Linked DNA regions of Homo sapiens: region 2 is linked to region 1. Evidence: promoter capture Hi-C in human tissues and cell types (Jung and others, 2019). All regions are on one chromosome and are shown on one strand. Each heading gives the region's core, a stretch centred on a gene start or on the middle of the fragment in contact. The rest is flanking DNA. Distances are from core to core; before and after follow the strand shown.

Region 1 (4,021 bases), core at 1,438-3,937:
CGTAGTATCTATTTTTGGAAAGCTCTTGTTTGTTAGATATGCACACTAAAATCTTTGTGGTTCAAATAATATGATATCTTGGATTTTCTTCCAAATAATCCTGTGAGAGGAAAAATGGGTAGCTGTATGAATAAAACAAGATTGGCCATGACTTGAAAATACAGGTTGAACATCTCTAACCTGAAAATCTGAAATGCTCCCAATTCCAAAATATTTGAGCACTGACATGATGCCACTAGATGAAAATTCCACACCTGACCTCATATGATGAGCTGCAGTAAAACCTTTGCTTCATGCACGAAATTATTTTAAAATGCTGTATAAAATTACCTTCAGACTATGTGTGTAAGGTATATATGAAATATAACTGAATTTCATGTTTAGACTTGGGTCCCTCCCCCAAGATATCTCATTATGTGTATGCGAATATTCCAAAATCCAAAATGAATCTGAAATTCAAAACGCTTCTGGTCCCAAGCATTTCAGACGAGAGATATTCAAACTGTAGTTGAAGTAAGGTGATGGGTTCATTATACCATCCTTTCTACGGTTGTATAGGTTTGAAAATTTCTAAATAAGACAGTTTAAAAAGTCGCAAATAAAAACCTAAGGAGGAGGGGTGTGTTAGGTGACTTGATCAGTTAGTGACCTTAAAGCTAACCCTAGATGCCAAGTCTACCTCCTTAGTGTTCTCAGGGCTCTGAATCAACTTATTAATAAAGGGAGAAATATGAACATCAGTAATGTAACAGGGCACAAGGCCTCAGCTGAGTGGTTTCTCAAAAAATTATTAAATTGGTCAGGCATGGTGGCTCACGCCTGTAATCCCAGCACTTTGGGAGGCCGAGGTGGGTGGATCACAAGGTCAGGAGTTCGAGACTAGCCTGGCCAATACAGTAAAACCCCGTATCTACTAAAAATACAAAAATTAGCTGGGCGTGGTGGTGTGTGCCTGTAGTCCCAGCTGCTCAGGAGGCTGGGGCAGGAGAATCGCTTGAATCCAGGAGACAGAAGTTGCAGTGAGCCGAGATTGTGCCACTGCACTCCAGTCTGGGCAACAGAGCGAGACTCCGTCTCAAAAAAAAAAAAATTATTAAATTGATTTGAATGCAAGGTACAAATTTTTTTTTTTTTTGATACAGTGTCTCACTCTGTCACCTAGGCTGGAGTGCAGTGGCAGGATCATGGCTCACTGCAGCCTTGACCTCCCAGGCCCAAAGGATTCTCTCACCTCAGCCACCCGAGTAGCTGGGACCGAGTAGCTGGGACCACAGGCGACGCCCGGCTAATTTTTTTTTTTTTGTAGAGGCGGGGTTTTGCCATGTTTTCTATGCAGGCTGGTTTCGAACTCTTGAGCTCAAGCAATCTGCCGGCCTTAGCCTCCCGAAGTGCTGGGATTGCTGAGAATTAATATGTATGCACTGATGATCCTCTCAACAATCCAAAGCAGTAAAACTATTACTTCTGTTTGTGAGTGTGGAAACCGAATTTAGGTAACCAGACAGCTCAAGGAATAGGGCTGCTTTGAATGACGATTATCTTCTAGGCAATTTGCAGCAACGTCAAAGGGCAGGGCCAGTAACAGGGTGGGGTGAGGTCTCAAAAAATTCAGTAATCAAAATGAATAACATTAATGCAATATTTTTTAAAAAATTAAATCAATAATCTACAGCTCATGAGGTAAATAATATGCCCGCTTTTGTAAATAAAGTTTATTGGAAACAGGGATGGAATTAGGGTGAGGTGATTGAGGCAAGGTCGTGCAAATGACTGGTCGGATCTCGTCTTTGTTTAAACGTCTGATATTTTGTTCAATATCAAATCATAAAAAGTTTTTGCATTAATTTTGGTTTTTTAAAAATATTGCATTAAAATATGAGTTTGATTGAGGGTTTTGGCGCCCCTTTAAATTTTGCTCCTAAGGCGGGAGTGCCTTGCCCGAATCCGGCCCAGAAAGGACACAGCTCTGGAAACATCTGTTTTCTATGCCCAATTTCGCCAGGGAGCTGCCAGCCACCAGCCAGGAGCCCCAGCGGTGACTTCCCCACTCGGGGCCCGGTCGGAAAACGCAAAGGGCCTGCGCGCGATGACCTCCAGGGCCCCTCCCAGGCCCAGTGTGGAACTCCCTAACACCCTCGCTCGCCCTCTCTCTGCGGAGAATCCCCCCGCACCGCTGCGGCCGGGTTCGGCTAGAGCCTCCCGGCTTTCAGAGCACCCTGAGGGGAGGAGCTTCCGCGACAGGAAACGCGCCAAAGGGGAGGGCTGGCGGCAGGAACCGGCTGAAGAGGGGCTGGGCTGCCGGCAGTGCGCGCCGCAGAGACCTGGAGCTCTCCGGCCACGGAGCCCGAAGCGCGGGAAGCCCGGCGGCGGGACGGGATGCCCGGTCGGAACCCATCCCGGCCGAGTCTCGAGGCCGCGGGAGCCGGCGCGGCGAACGCCGGGAGCCGCAGTCCTCCCGCCCGGGCGCCTCGGGTCAGCGGGGTCTACCCCGGCCCCACCTAACCTCTCGGTGCCCGGCCTTCTAAGCCCCCGTGGGGGGCGTGTGCATAAACTCACCTCAGAACCCACCTCGCCTGTCATGACTTCTGCCTCCCCTGCGCTCCACTAGGGACGGAGCTGTCTCTGATTCCCTCAGCCGGAGAGCAGCGGCTCCCGCCGTCTCCAGCCCAGCAGTGCTGTTCTTGCTTTCCCGCCCAGCCAGAGTGGAGGTCCCACCCAGATGGTTTGCACCAATCCAGAGGGGGCTTTCCAGCGAGTCCCCGCCCCCTTCCGACCCACCAATCACGCAGCGCCTCTGGCCGCCCAATCTCCTATTACCCAGGCTGAGTTGGCGGGTCGCAGCTGCTGGTAGCGGAGCCTGGGGGAGCTGGAGGTGCACGGGGGCGGGGCAGTCGGTACCAGGCGAGCCGTGGTCTTTGACCTTTGACACTTGCCAAAGCATCGAGTGCGATTGGAGGGGTGAGTCTTTCGGGGGGAAGTGAGCTGGGAAACGGTTCCTGGGCACCTGGGAGTGTCCTGTACCTGAACTTTTTAGAGGAATTCCAAGGTTCCCGTGGGGATTTTCTCCACTGACTTCATTTCTGGAGCAGCTAGATCCTGTGTGCCTCTTGTACATGACACTTACCACTGAATATATATATATATATATATATATATATATATATATATATATACACACACACACACATATGTACACACATATATACATACACATATATACACATACACATGTATGTGTATACACACACACTTTTTTTTTTTTTGAGATGGAGTCTCCCTCTGTTAGCCAGGATGAAATGCAGTGGCGCGATCTCGGCTCACTGCAACCTCCGCCTCCCGGGTTCAAGCGATTCTCGTGCCTCAGCCTCCTGAGTAGCTAGGATTACAGGCACCCGCCACCAACCCCTGGCTAATTTTTGTATTTTTAGTAGAGACGGGGTTTCACCATGTTGGCCAGGCTGGTCTCGAACTCCTGATCTCAAATGATCCTCGCCTCGGCCTCCCAAAGTGCTGGGAGGCCTCATACCCCTCACAGGCGTGAGCCACTGTGCCCGGCCCACTTTTATTTTTTAAAGAGGGCCGGGCTCCATGGCTCACGCTTGTAATCTCAACGCTTTGGGAGGCCGAGGTGGGAGGATGGCTTGAGTCCAGGAGTTTGAGGTTAGAGTGAGTTATGATCGCACCACTGCACTTCAGCGTAGGCGATAGAGGGAGACCTTGTCTCTAAAGAAAAAAGTTTTGTGGGCTGCTCAGATACCAAAGAATATGGTTGGATAATCTTTATAATTCTCTGTAGAGTTAATTTGAGGATGTAGAAAGCACTCATCACTCCTAGAGGGCATTCTACCTTTAAACAAGGCTGGAAAAAGAATTGAAGCTCTGAAATCAGGTTTATCCCAGACACAGTTCTTTTTTTTTTTTTTTTTTTTTTGTTGAGACAGAGTCTCTCCCTGTCACCATGGCTGGGTGCAATGGCGTGATCTCGGCTCACTGCAACCTCCGCCTCCCGGGTTCAAGCGAT
Region 2 (3,521 bases), core at 77-2,576, 670 kb before region 1:
ATTCTCTTTTGCTTTTCAACCCTTCAATACTATACTAGTCTTTTGTCTTTTTACTTTTTTGCTATGGGCCATATAGTACTCTCTTCAGCCTGCTTTCTCTCCCTGCAGAGTCATAAAACTGGAAGGGACCTTAGAGACTCACTACACATCTTCAGCAGATGTCCCAGACAGATTGAAAAAGGCTGAAGCAGGAAAGATTTAGTGTGTAAGTTCTCCTAGGCATGGAAATCCAATATGAGTAAAAATCTGAGATAAGTTTTACTTCCTCTAGAATAAAATTTTTTTATAAAAAATATTATATTGTAGTGGGTAGAAAGATGGTAGTAAATTTTAGGCTGGAAAAGGCCATCCATGATTCAGAGTAGGCTGCTTTTTTCAAAACTTAAAAATTCCACATTAATTAGCCTTTTACATAAATTTTAGCTATTCTTCTGGGGTTTTTTTATCTTCCAGTGAAACTATCCTGAACTGAAAATAATTTTCAGTTACTTATTTATTTATTTTTGCAGAGACAGAGTCACTATGTTTCCCAGGCTGATCTTAAACTCCTGAGTTCAAGTGATCCTCCTGCCTTGGTCTCCCAAAGTGCCGGGATTACAGGTGTGAGCCACCGTGCTGATTTTCAGTTTTGTTTGTTTGTTTGTTTTGTTTTGTTTTGTCTGAGACGGAGTCTCGTCTCAATCTGTCACCCAGGCCAGAGTGCAATGGTGCAATCTTGGCTTACTGCAACCTCCACCTCCTGGGTTCAAGCAATTCTCCTGCCTCAGCCTCCCAAGTAGCTGGGATTACAGGCGTGTGCCACTGTGCCCAGCTAGTTTTTTTATTTTCAGTAGAGATGCAGTTTCGCCATGTTGGCCAGGCTGGTCTCGAACTCCGGACCTCAGGTGATCTGCTTTCCTCGGCCTCCCAAAGTGCTGGGATTATAGGTATGAGCCACCACGCCCTGCCTGATTTTTAGTTACTTTTTAAGATTTCTTTTATAGGAATGATTTAATATCTGTTTTGAGTCAATGCACTTTTTATTCTATTTCATGGACCAAATGGAAGATCCCTTTGAAGATGACATTTTAAATCTTATTAGAAAGATGCGATTTGTGGGCCAAGCGAGGTGGTTCACACCTGTAATCCCAGCACTTTGGGAGGCCAAGGCAGGAGAATCACTGGAGGTCAGGAGTTCGAGACCAGTCTAGCCAACACCACAAATCCCTGTCTCTACTAAAAATATAAAAATTAGCCAGGCGTGGTGGTGTGTGCCTGTAAACCCAGCTACACCAGTGACTGAGGCAGGAGAATTGCTTGAACCCAGGAGACGGAGGTTGCAGTGAGCTGAGATTGTACGACTGCACTCCAGCCTGGGCAACGGAGTGAGACCCTGTCTCAAAAAAAAAAAAAAAGATGTGACTTGTTCTTGGGAACTTTGTATTTAAGAAGTGTCATTTCTTCACTTTAGTATCTCAGTTGGAACCAACCGCAAATCCTGAATGCAATCAATAAAGTCCAAAATAGGCCCCTGCACTAAGGTTTGATTTATTTATCGGAAAGTTGTTCCTAATTTGTTGGCGTTTCTTTTTTTTTTTTGAGACAAGGTCCCTGTCTGTCACCCAGGTTGGAGTGCAGTGGCACCATCTTGGCTCACTGCAGCCTCGACCACCTGGGCTTAAGCAATACTCCCACCTTTACCCTCCCAAGTAGCTGGGATTGCAGGCACATGCCACCCTGCCTGTCCAGTTTTTGTATTTTTTTGTAGAGATGATTTCACCATGTTGTCCAGACTGGTCTTGAACTCCTGGGCTCAAGTGATCCTCCTGGCTTGCCCTCCCAAAGTGCTGGCATTATGGGCGTGAGCCACCGTACCCAGCCAACATTCTTTTTTTTTTTTTTTTTGAGGCGGAGTCTCACCGTTTTGCCCAGGCTGGAGTTCAATAGCGGGATCTCAGCTCACTGCAACCTCCGCCTCCCAGGTTCAAGCGATTCTTCTGCCTCAGCCTCCCTAGTAACTGGGATTACAGGTGCCTATCACCATGCCCCGTTAATTTTTGTATTTTTAGTAGAGATGGGGTTTCACCGTGTTGGCCAGGCTGGTCTCCCAACTCCTGACCTCAGGTATCTGCCTGCCCCAGCCTCCCAGGATTACACATGTGAGCCACCGTGCCTGGCCAACATTCATTTTTCAATTTTTTATAAAGCTTTAGTAGATTCTTAGAAGCCAGCAATCTAGTATGCTGATAGCAATAAAAACTAAGAAGCATTTTCAGACTTCCATGCGTCGCTGATGTAGTTTCTTCTTCCTCCCTTCCCATCTGGCTGGTATCTTTATTCTGTCTGAAAGGTATGCCTCAAATATCTTTACCTTTTGTCTATTCCCACACCATTCCTCACTCTCCTCTTACAACCGCCCACCCCCCAAATTAATTCTTCTGTGGTCTGTGATTTTACAGTGTCGTGTTCATAACTCCCAAAACATTGATCACAAAATACTAATGTTTTTAAATATTTTTAGTAGAGACGGGGTTGGCCAGGCTAGTCTCGAACTCCTGACCTCAAGTGATCTGCCCACCTTGGCCTCCCAAGATTAAAGGTGTGAGCCACCGCGCCTGCTATTAGGTGTATTGATATTTTCTATAGTGGCTGTTCTCAAACTTTCTGGTCTCAGGACTTCTTGTACCCTTAAAAATTATTGAACACCCAAAGAGCTTTAGTTATGTAGATTATGAATATTAACTGTATCAAAAATTAAATGACATTTTAAATGAAAAATACCCATATTTTTAAAAATTGATAAGTATTGTTTTATCAGTTTTGCAAATCACTTTACATCTAGCTGGATTTTTGTATCTGTTTCTGCCTTCACTTTATTGCAAAGTGTTGTTTTGGTTGAAGTCTGAAGAAAACCTGGCCTCATAAATAGGTGATTGGAAAAGGGGGGAGTGTTTTAGTAGCCTTTTAGATCGTTGTGGGTGTTCTTTGATACTACAACCAAAAATCAAGTGGTAGTTTCTTAAAGGCTAGTTGCAATGTGGGATCAAACTTTTTGTACCATGTGGATCAGTGAACTTTTTGCACTCTGTTATGTTAGAATTCGTTAATCTATCTTGTACTTTGAATGGATCTTTTACCCGTGAATGATTTTTGTAATATGCTATTGTAGTTTGGAAAATACTGGTTCACTGAGTTCTGCAGATCTTCTAGATGTTCTCATTTTATTATGCAGTATTTTAAAAATCACCACTAATCTCAGAAAAGTTTTTAAGTTTTGGGTATCGATCAAGTTGAAGTTGGAAGATACAAGTTTTCCAAAATTCTAATTATCACTTGAAAGACAAAATTTTATTGTTGGCGATAAATACTGTCGTTTTACTTGAAGTGACAGTCTCATTTTTTTCATTTTCAAGAAAATATCTGCAGATACCCACTTCTGGATAATAGTTTGTCTTTATTTACAGTAAACTGTTTACAGTACTTTCAAGTAAAAATGTTTTCCATGAAAAAAGTGGCTAATTCATTTATAACTCAACATTTCC

The links. Contacts are between HindIII fragments. The study calls those that stand out against the background at their distance.
Region 2: a fragment that was not itself captured here is called in contact with the fragment with the promoter of CLSPN in region 1 in 1 of the 25 tissues and cell types used here (liver).

The regions. Positions count from the first base shown.
Region 1 is chr1:35,767,291-35,771,311 of GRCh38, forward strand. It overlaps CLSPN (claspin), which reads right to left and starts at 2,688. Exons shown (of 25, transcript NM_022111.4): 1 at 2,557-2,688. The coding sequence starts at 2,580. It overlaps CLSPN-DT (CLSPN divergent transcript), which reads left to right and starts at 2,805. Exons shown (of 3, transcript NR_199050.1): 1 at 2,805-2,958. RefSeq lists a silencer at 2,301-2,530. The HindIII fragment of the contact is 25,943 bases long and covers 1-4,021 here.
Region 2 is chr1:35,099,243-35,102,763 of GRCh38, forward strand. All of the region lies in intron 4 of ZMYM1 (zinc finger MYM-type containing 1), which reads left to right. Among named protein-coding and RNA genes, the nearest start is that of ZMYM1, 22 kb to the left of the region's middle. The HindIII fragment of the contact is 6,108 bases long and covers 1-3,521 here.